3 separate regions of the Homo sapiens genome follow, and all the other regions are linked to region 3. Evidence: promoter capture Hi-C in 16 types of primary human blood cells and fetal thymus (Javierre and others, 2016). All regions are on one chromosome and are shown on one strand. The core of a region is centred on a gene start or on the middle of the fragment in contact, and the rest is flanking DNA. Distances in the headings are between cores, read along the strand shown.

Region 1 (3,491 bases), core at 1-2,500, 130 kb before region 3:
GGGGTGGGCAAAGCGCCCGGAGCCCCTACCTAATCGTGCAACCATGGAAACCAGCCCGCCGGCTGCCACAGGGCTGCCGACTCACCAGCCTCGCGCGCTGCCAGGGCAACCGTGAGACGGGACTTCCGGCTCCCGGGGAAGTCCCGCCCCTCTCCGCCGGCCGCTTTTGTAGCCGTGGGAGGCGGGGCTTCAGCCCAGGGCGGGGTCCAGCACGGCGGGGCGGGGCGGGACGGGGCGGAGCCTTCCCGAGCTGCGAGGTCGCTGTCTCCTTGCGCTCGCCACTGGCTCTCTCTGCGGCAGGTTTCCCTCCGGTTACCGTGACCAAAGGGGAAAGACGCCTGCCTCCCTGCAGGCCCCAAGATGTGCCCCAGGGGATGCGCTGACTGCAGCCTCCGCTCGGCTCTCCCTTGAGACTGCAATCACAGCCCTCCGTGCACACCTTCACCACAGGCCATTTCACCCGCGAAGCGGCCGAGTGAGGCGGTCATCCAGCTGGCGCTGATTTTTATCGCCCACAGCTCCTAGGACCTGTAGGCATCTAAGGCGGGGGCATTCGCCTAGAGCATGTTGCAGTTTGCGGCAACCTGGGCCTCTTGCGTTGTTGCGCAGGCAGATTAGTGCCCTGTTCCCAGCGTGGTAGCATTGTGGACCTCCTCTGACCCTAACTGGATACACTCTCCCTCAGAGTCCCCACAGCACATTATCTAGACTAGCTTTTGGCAGTCTTCTATTTTGTAGACGTCTAATCACCCCAGATAAAGTCCTTCAGAGGCAAGGCCAGTGTTGTGTACATCTTTGCACACTGCTGCGGGCGTGGGAAGTAATCTATTCAAAATGAATGAAATTCTTAAAACCAATCCATCCCCCCGCCCCCTTCACGCCAGCCCACCTATTTCCAGTATATTTCTGCTGACTGTCCCCACAAGGGCCCCTACCTCCTCTTTGTCCGGTCCTTTGATCTGGTCTCCGCACACCTCTTTTTCCCCAGCTTCCTCCTTTTGGTCTACCTTTTCTGTAGACATCTTCCTGACGAGCCTCTGTTGACTCTGGATCTTCCACTGAGTCACTTGTGGCTAAAACGTGAAGTGGCGATCCAGACGCTGATACCTGTGGCGCATCACATTTTCCTGGATATGGAAAATGGAGGGTCCCTGGGAGAGAAACGAAGATTCAGGTGCTAAGTGCTGTGTCAGAGTAGAGGGAGGAAAGGAGGAGGGGGGCGACTGCCCAGCTGATGTCAGATTTTCAAATGAGCAGGGTCCCCCGCAGCCAGTACAGACTCCACTGCAGGGGCCGTCATAGGCCCAGACCACGCCATTTGAGAGGGGGAGTCGGCCTTGGCCTCAGCTCTGTTGGGGAGGTCTCTAGCCCAGAGTCAGGATGCCTGCAATGGGGGAGGGGCAGGCAGTGAACTAGCGACAGTGGGGGTGTGCGCAGGGATGCAGGCAGCTAGGCTCCCCCACTGGCCAGGCAGTTGGTATGCTCCAGGATCTGAGCAGCTCCTTCTAGCATCCTTCATCCTTCAGGTACCAGCCATCCAGACAGTGCTTGAGCTGCAGAAACTGAGACCAGACCTCTGGCCTGGCCCTCCCCAGGGGCCTCCTTTCGTATAGTCACTGCTTCTGCATCAGATACTTTCAGCTGCAACTCCCTACTGGGTGGGGCACCCATTTCAGGCAGAAGGTTTTGGTACCCTCCACTGACCCTACACCCAGGGCTGCTACTGCCGCTTGTGGCTTCAGGTAAGTAATGGCCTGTTTTTCTCCTGTTGGGGCTCACTGGAGCAGACAGGGGTGATGTGCCCTCCTCATCAGGGTTGGTTGAGGTCTTCAGAGCTGGGAACACACATGGTTTGAAGGGCTGAAAAGCCTTAAATCATTTGTGTAAGGTTTAATGATCTGTGGCCCAGGCCATGAGGGAGTTTGGGGAGCACCTCATCCCACCCTATTTTTTTCCATGAGGAATACAGGGATGAGACAGTCCACTGGAGGAGGAGGAGGAGGATAGGAGGGGAACAAAATATTGGGGTATGACCACAGCCTTGTAAAGGTTGGTGTGGAGTGAGCATGGAGGGGGGCCTCCAGCTGAGACTGTGCTCTGAGAGGTCCCTCTTTTTTCCAGGATGAAAGGTGAGACCCCGGTGAACAGCACTATGAGTATTGGGCAAGCACGCAAGATGGTGGAACAGCTTAAGATTGAAGCCAGCTTGTGTCGGATAAAGGTAGGTGGGACCCTGGCTGGCTCCCATTAGTTGGCCAGGCTGTGCTGTGCTGCAGGTTCCCAAAGCTCAAGATAAGAGATGCGTTCTTTCCTTCACTCCCTGAGGTCAGGGGAGGAGTCTGGGGCTCTGTAGAGAGAGCTGTCCCCAGGCCTCTGGGGGGGATGAGGGAGAAGACAAGTCGTAAGGAGCCCTGGAGATGGCAAAAGAGAACCCATTTGGGGAGGGAGGCTGCAGTCCCCTTCAGAGGTCCTGGCTAACAATACCCTTCCTGGCTGTGTCCCAGGTGTCCAAGGCAGCAGCAGACCTGATGACTTACTGTGATGCCCACGCCTGTGAGGATCCCCTCATCACCCCTGTGCCCACTTCGGAGAACCCCTTCCGGGAGAAGAAGTTCTTCTGTGCTCTCCTCTGAGCTCCCCTGTCCCTTCTCACAACTCCTCCCTTTTCCCTCTCCTGGGCCCTTCCTTAGGTCAGTAATTGTTGTGAGCCCCTTAGGCTCCTTGCATCCCATCCCTAACCCTTGCCTGACCATGTGAGGTTATCTGAAGCACAAGGCCCACCCTCACCTATCTGTCGACCCCATTTCCTACCACCTTTGTGGCCGACCCCAAGCACCCCAGAGATATGAGGCACCCTTTGCTCCACCCACAGCAGGGCCCCGTCAGACTCTGCCAGCGCGTCCTGCCCGCTTCCCTCGGTGACCTGCTCAGACAATGGAGAGGGATGGGCCAGGTTCTTGCTCTCAGTCTCACCTGGAGCTACTGGGAGGGTAAAGCCATTTGAAGAATAAAGTCATCCAGAGCCTCAGGACAGCTCCTGTGTTAGAATTCTTGGGGGGAGAGGATCATCAAGCAATAGATCTGCCATACCCAGGGAAAAGGGCCAATCAATGCAGGCTAGACATCGTCAAGGATCGGAGATCAGAGGGGTCGGGGGATGGCGGGCGCGAGAGAGCGTCCACAGTGTAAGAATTAAGTACAAAAGACGCTCAAGAGGCTGCGAAGAGCAAACACACACACACAAACGTGCAACGAAGCCAAGTTAAAAGGTAAACAGGCCGAAGAGGGGGGATTTAGGGGAGGGTGCGGGAGTGCAGTCGTACAGCAGAGGAACTCTTAGGAGGGTAGGGGCGGAGCTTGGCTTCAGTTACCGCGACTGGAGCCGATTTTATACCTAAGATGGCTGCGCCCACAGCCACTCCCATTCCAAGATGGCCGTACCAACATGGCAGCCCCCACGTCACGGAGTTTACCGTACAGGGCTTCTCTTA
Region 2 (3,185 bases), core at 480-2,979, 190 kb before region 3:
AAGACAGGGTCTATTATACACATTGTATCTAGTTATCTAGCATTAGCTTCAGCATCTGCTTGAAAGCTAAAAGAAAATTACCAGAAATGAGATCACAGAGTGTACTATGATCTCATCACAGGACTCTCCTCCAGCTCCAGAGGAATGTACGAAACAACTGTTCCACAGCAGGCCAGACAGAAAAATGAAGAAAACACTAGGCACTGTGGTTTAATAGGCCAAGCAGAATAAATGCTACCACAAAACTCCATAGCAAGGCATGCGGCACAGGTCCTGCAGTGAGTGACCTGAGTGACTGCAACAGGCACTCTTGGCCACTGACCCACGTCCACCTGCCAAAAGCAGCAGTAAATAGAAGTACAGTGAGTTGAGGCCGGGCGCGGTGGCTCACGCCTGTAATCCCAGCACTTTGGGAGGCCGAGGCGGGTGGATCACGAGGTCAAGAGATCGAGATCATCCTCACCAACATAGTGAAACCCCGTCTCTACTAAAAATACAAAAAAATAGCCAGGCGTGGTGGCGGGTGCCTGTAGTCCCAGCTACTCGGGAGGCTGAGGCAGGAGAATGGCGTGAACCCAGGAGGCGGAGCTTGCAGTGAGCCGAGATCTCGCCACTGCACTCCAGCCTGGGCAACAGAGCGAGACTCTGTCTCTCAAAAAAAAAAAAAAAAGACGTACAGTGAGTTAAATACCCTCTGGGGCCCTATTTGCACAGTCTGTAAAATTGGTTCGGAAAGATGCCAATGGAGATAGGATTCCTAAAGCATCTTTCAGATATGACCTGTTGGAGGGCCCTAAGGAATTCACGGCGGCCTTGACCACCCCAAGAGAGGTGTTCATAGGCCAAAGTCAGGAATAAGCTGCAGGGCAAGTTGCACGCATTTATTGTTTCAGATCACAGGCTCCGAGGGAACTGAGTTTATGATCCACGCTTTCTTCATCGCTTTGGAGAGTACACGCCTACCCCACCCCAGTATATCCGTTAGGTCCTAGTAAACATTTGTGGCACTGGTGATATGTTTCGAATCTTTTTTTTTCCCCAGTAATATAAACCCGAGAGCGTGGACCAAGCCATTCGATTACATGTTGTGTTTGAGCAACACCATCCACGCCGTGAGCTTACTGGACCCTGGGCCGTGCCCAGCGACCGTGGACACTGAACTAAGCCAGAGCTGGTGCTCACGTGAAGACAAGGGCAGAGGAGGATTCGGAGCTCTACAGGGTAGAGCCAGAAGGGTAGTACAGGCTTAACTGCTGGCCCGGTGCTTCCAGCTCAGCCGAGGGGCCGCGGGGCCGCAGGCTGCATTCCCCGAGGCCAGGCCGCATCTTTTCCCCCGCCCCGACGACCCCGCGCACTGCAGGAAGGGGGCGGCGACGTTGACCGCCGCAAGCAGCCAAAGGAGGGCGGCGGCTGAGAGCGGCCAAGACCAAGAAAGACGCACAGCTGTGGCTTTACTAAACCGCCGGGCGGGAGCCCGGAGCCCCACAGGCAAGGCCCCCAGCGTCGCTCGGATCTACCACGGGGAGACCGGAGGCGTCTGAGGCCGCCTCCAGAGGAACAAAGGTTCCTCACGAGGCCGGGGGTGGCAGAGTGTCAAGAGACACACAGGAAGGAGTGGAATGGGACTTGGGGGATCTGGGGGCGTCCCGGGCGCGCCCCCAGATTCCGGGCTCCTCACCGCCTCCTACGCGCCGCCACTGCCGCTACCGCCGCCATCTTGTGCAGAGTTTGCTCCTTGACCCCAAACCTCCCGCCCCATCGCGCGCGCTCAGCCACGTATCCTAGTTCCCGCCCCTTCCGGCCTTATGATTGGTTCGACCTGAGCGCCGCCGGGCAGCTGTCTCATTGGTAGAGTGCGCACTCCAAATTATCGCAGGGGGCGGGGCTTCAGGCCAGGGGCGGGAACGTCCAGAGCCAGGCGCTGTCAGACTTTGCACGCTCTCAGCATGACAGAAGCACTGGACTGGTTTTCTCAAGTTGGCAAATTTTATTTAGAAAAAAAAAAGTGGGAGAGAAAAAAGTGACAGCGCTCTTTAGACCAAGGACTTAGAAGAGAAACCTCCACCCTTCCGGAGCACGTTAGTCCCTTCCCTCTCTCACTGCTCAACCTCCCTGGGCTTCCAGAGCAAGAAAAGGCTACGTCCCCTGTCGAAGGAGAGTGGACGGTGAAGGTGCCTGGAAACGGCCAGAGAAAAGACCTAGGCGGTCGATGTTGCGGTGGAGGACACTGTGCAGCACAGCCAGATGGGGTCCACCCTCACCTCCACCCTCCCTGGAGAAGTCCCGAATGAAGCGACCCCGCTCTGATTGGAAGATGAACTTCTGAGGCAAGGGCCCATGCTCCCGGAGAAAACCCCAGACACTGAGCAGCAGCAGACGCACCTCGAAAGGTGCCAGTTGGCTAAATACTTCATGCATATTACCCAGGGCCGGAGGCAGGAGGCTTCCCTCAGCCATGACAGCCACTAAGGTGCAGGATGCCTCCAGGTGCCAGGGGGAGTGGGTCGTGTCAGGGTGGCGAGAGGCTTCCCAATGGCCCAAGAGGGCGGCCAGCAGCCCCCGAAGCAGCACGGAACAGTAGCACAGGGCTGGGGGTGCAGCTGCTACCAGCTTTAACAGCTCAAAGAGCAGGGGCTGTTCGCGGAAGCGCCGGCCAATGCGGAGATCCCGCTCCACGGTGGCCCGGGCGTGTTCCTCGGGGGGCCAGGCCAGCTCTGCACCAGCTGCATCGGGACACACACTCTCCACCAAGGTCACTGCCACTGCTTTGGCTGCCTCTGGACTCAAGATGGGTGCCCCCCAGCATTCCCCACATTCAGTGCCCCCTGGGGCACTGCAGCAGTGAACCAGGAGGCTGAGGAGGCTCTGGGTGTTATAGATCACTTCCTGCTGATTTCGTGACTGGACAAACTTGGGTGGCTTTAAGCCACGGCCGATGACTCCAGCATGGAAAACTGACCAAATCCCTCCAGGACCTGGCACAGCTGCAGTGTGCCTCCGGTTAGTGTCCAACAGGGAGGCAGAAGCCAAAGAAGCTGAAACAACTGAGAGAGTCTCATTGTCCCCATCTACTTGCCCACCAAACAGTTCTGTGTTGCCTCGATGTAAGGCTCCTTCAACCAGCAGCTGCAGGACAGCCTTGAGCCCAGCTGGGGATGTCTGAGACAGGCGGGTGAGAAGCTGAC
Region 3 (3,053 bases), core at 550-3,049:
AACCACATGGGGGTGTGCTGGGTCTTGGCGCATCCTACACACCCCAGGGCCCACTCTCAGTTCCAGGAGCTGTAAAGAATAGGAGATAAGAGTCCGTTCCAGAGTCCTTAATCCTCCCTTCCCCAGCGTGATCATTAGGCACCTACCCCAGCCCACCTCCCCCAACCATCAGGGCAGGGGAGCCTCACTGGGTCAGAGGATGTGTCCTTGTCCTTGTCATGCCAGACTCTGAGAATCCCAGAATCCACACATGTGATGAGGGTGCTGCAGAGAAAGGATAGAGTTGGGATTTTTTAAGTGCTTAAACTCCTTGTTCTAATCTTTCTCTCCTCCTTACTACTACAGTTGACTAATGTTTAAAGAAAAAAAAAAGTATAAAAGTATTCTCTAGGCCCCAAACTCATATCAACCAGATTCCCTACTAACAGTCCAGTTTAGAAGGAAGCCTCTAGGTCACTGGGCTCTAGGCAGGGCTTGACAGCTTCCAGCTTCCTAATCTGTTAATTCAACTTTCTCAACAGGGTGAGGGTTTACCAAGTGAGGAAATAGAAGCGCTGAGAAACTAATTTGCCACTCAGCTATGTTACAACCACAGCTAGAAATCAACTCTGTGATATTCCAGAGTGCTTTTGCTGTTCACAGCTATGTCTAGCATCTGGCTGTACTGGTCTGTCTGAATCTTGAGTTGCTTACTAGGGCTGGTCTGAATTTAGGGCTTGGTCAAAGTCAAACACCAACTTCTTGGGTTCCTTGCTCTGAGTTTCAGGCACTAAATGTCAGTCTCTTGCTTAAAATATCCCTCCCGAGAAGTCCAAGCAAGTCTCTCCCCAGGATCTGCACAGCCTGCGCCTATGTTCTTTCTCACACCTGCCAACCCTCCCTAGCTGGGTTCGGGCTCTGTATCGACTTGCCTGACCTGTGGCAAAAGTCTCCCAGTTGCTGTCTCCAATCCATCCTCCATACTCCTACAGGCTCCCAGTGCTGACTATGGTACTTCCTATTCAAAAACTGATAACTTGGCCAGGCACAGTGGCTCACGCCTATAATCCCAGCACTTTGGGAGGCCAAGGCAGGCAGATCACCTGAGGTCAGGAGTTCCAGACCAGCCTGGCCAACATATAGTGAAATCTTGTCTCTACTAAAAAATACAAAAATTAGCTGGGTGTGGTGGTACATGCCTGTAGTCCTAGCTACTTGGGAAGTTGAGGCAGGAGAATCGCCTGAACCAGGGAGGTGGAGGTTGCAGTGAGCCGAGATCATGCCACTGCACTTCAGCCTCAGTGACAGAGCAAGACTCCGTCTCTCAGAAAAACAAAAACAATAAATGAATAACTCACCAACACCAATAAAAGTGCACATCTCTCAACCTAGCACTTAAAGCCCTTTACATTTAATCCCAACCTAATATAGTGTTCATCTTGTATTAAAATGCTTCCTTGGCCGGGTGCAGTGGTTCACGCCTGTAATCCCAGCATTTTGGGAGGCTGAGGTGGGCGGATTGCCTGAGGTCAGGAGTTCCAGACTAGCCTGGCCAACATAGTGAAACCCTGTCTCTAATAAAAATACAAAAAAAACTTAGCTGGGCGTGGTGGCGGATGCCTGTAATCCCAGCTACTCAGGAGGCTGAGGCAAGAGAATCGCTTGAGCCTGGGAGGCAGAAGTTGCAGTGAGCCGAGACTGTGCCACTGCACTCCAGCCTGGGCAACAGAGTGAGACTCCGTATATAAAAAAAAAACAAAAAACAAAAAAAAAAAAACGCTTCCTTGTTATCAACTTCCAAATCAAATGCTATTTATCCTATTTATGTACCCTGTAGCATGCCTCCAGTCCTTGGCCTCTCCCAGGCAGTACCCTCTTTCTAGAATACCCTTATCCCCTTCTCCACCAGTCAAAATTCTACCCATCCCTCAAGAACCAGTTCAGACATCCAGTCCCCCCCACAGGCTTTCCAGACCTCACCTGTCAGAATTACCACCACCAAACCTATGCAGCCTGCTTCACAGCCCTCTTTCATCATCTTTGGAAGAAAGCAAGGCCAGTCATCCAACCACTTAGCACCTTCCTAATCTTTGCTTTCAGAGCTACATCACCTTGTTGGTGGTTGAGCTCAAGTTGAGCCCAGGAGTTTGAGACTGGCCTGGGCACACAGTGAGACCCCATCTCTATAAAAAACTTAAAAATTTAGCTGGGCAGGGTGACACCTGCCTGTGGTCCCAGGTACTCAGGAGGTTGAGGCGGGAGGATCGTTTGACCCCGGGAGGTTGAGGCTGTAGTGAGCCATGAATGCACCACTGCACTCAAGCCTAGGTGACACAGTGAGGCTCTGTCTCAAAAAATATAAATGAATTAATAATGAATTAATGAATGCATGCTTAAAACTTTTTTTGTTGTTTTTTTTGAGATGGAGTCTTGCTCTGTTTCACAGACTGGAGTGCACTGGTGCGATCTCTGCTCACTGCAACCTCTGCGGGACGGATTCAAGCGATTCTCCAGCCTCGGCCTCCCAAGTAGCTGGGATTACAGGCATGAGCCACCACACCCGGATAATTTTTGTATTTTTTTAGTAGAGAAGGGGTTTTACCGTGCTGGCCAGGCTGGTCTTGAACTCCTGACCTCAAGTGATCCACCTATCTCGGCCTTCCAAAGTGCTGGGATGACAGGCATGAGCCACCACACCCAGCCTTGCTTAAAACTATTAAATGACAAGCAGGCACAGTGGCTCACGCCTGTAATCCCAGCACTTTGGGAGTCCGAGGCAGGTGGATCACCTGAGGTCAGGAGTTCGAGACCAGCCTAGCCAATACGGTGAAACCCCGTCTCTACTAAAGATACAAAAATAGCCGCGCGTGGTGGCAGACGCCTGTAATCCCAGGTACTTGGGAGGCTGAGGCAGGAGTATCGCTTGAACCCGGGAGGCGGAGGTTGCAGTGAGCCGAGATCGCGCCACTGCACTCCAGCCTGGGCAACAAGAGCGAAAACTCCGTCTCCAAAAAAAAAAAAAACAAAAAACAAACACACACACACACAAAACTATTAAATGACTTGCCCATGGT

The links. Contacts are between HindIII fragments. The CHiCAGO score rates a contact against its expected background, and 5 or more counts as called.
Region 1: a contact is called between the fragment with the promoter of BSCL2 here and a fragment that was not itself captured in region 3, in 2 of 17 cell types (activated CD4 T cells and naive B cells). The highest score is 6.9, in activated CD4 T cells.
Region 2: a contact is called between the fragment with the promoter of GANAB here and a fragment that was not itself captured in region 3, in 2 of 17 cell types (activated CD4 T cells and non-activated CD4 T cells). The highest score is 5.8, in activated CD4 T cells.

What each region holds. Positions count from the first base shown.
Region 1 is chr11:62,706,174-62,709,664 of GRCh38, forward strand. BSCL2 (BSCL2 lipid droplet biogenesis associated, seipin) reads right to left here and starts at 1,251. Exons shown (of 11, transcript NM_001122955.4): 1 at 936-1,251. The coding sequence starts at 1,022. It overlaps GNG3 (G protein subunit gamma 3), which reads left to right and starts at 1,503. Exons shown (of 3, transcript NM_012202.5): 1 at 1,503-1,742; 2 at 2,122-2,221; 3 at 2,505-3,028. The coding sequence starts at 2,123. The coding sequence ends at 2,633. It overlaps HNRNPUL2-BSCL2 (HNRNPUL2-BSCL2 readthrough (NMD candidate)), which reads right to left. Exons shown (of 24, transcript NR_037946.1): 14 at 936-1,151. RefSeq lists a silencer at 1-294 and enhancers at 1-635, 1,955-3,154, 3,285-3,491. The HindIII fragment of the contact is 17,480 bases long and covers 1-3,491 here.
Region 2 is chr11:62,644,884-62,648,068 of GRCh38, forward strand. GANAB (glucosidase II alpha subunit) reads right to left here and starts at 1,730. Exons shown (of 24, transcript NM_198334.3): 1 at 1,679-1,730. The coding sequence starts at 1,716. It overlaps INTS5 (integrator complex subunit 5), which reads right to left. Exons shown (of 2, transcript NM_030628.2): 2 at 1,965-3,185. The coding sequence ends at 2,137. RefSeq lists enhancers at 1-736, 1,052-1,211 and a silencer at 1,822-1,901. The HindIII fragment of the contact is 15,573 bases long and covers 1-3,185 here.
Region 3 is chr11:62,835,773-62,838,825 of GRCh38, forward strand. WDR74 (WD repeat domain 74) reads right to left here. Exons shown (of 11, transcript NM_001369450.1): 4 at 189-264; 5 at 1-69. Among named protein-coding and RNA genes, the nearest start is that of WDR74, 2.3 kb to the right of the region's middle. The HindIII fragment of the contact is 4,232 bases long and covers 1-3,053 here.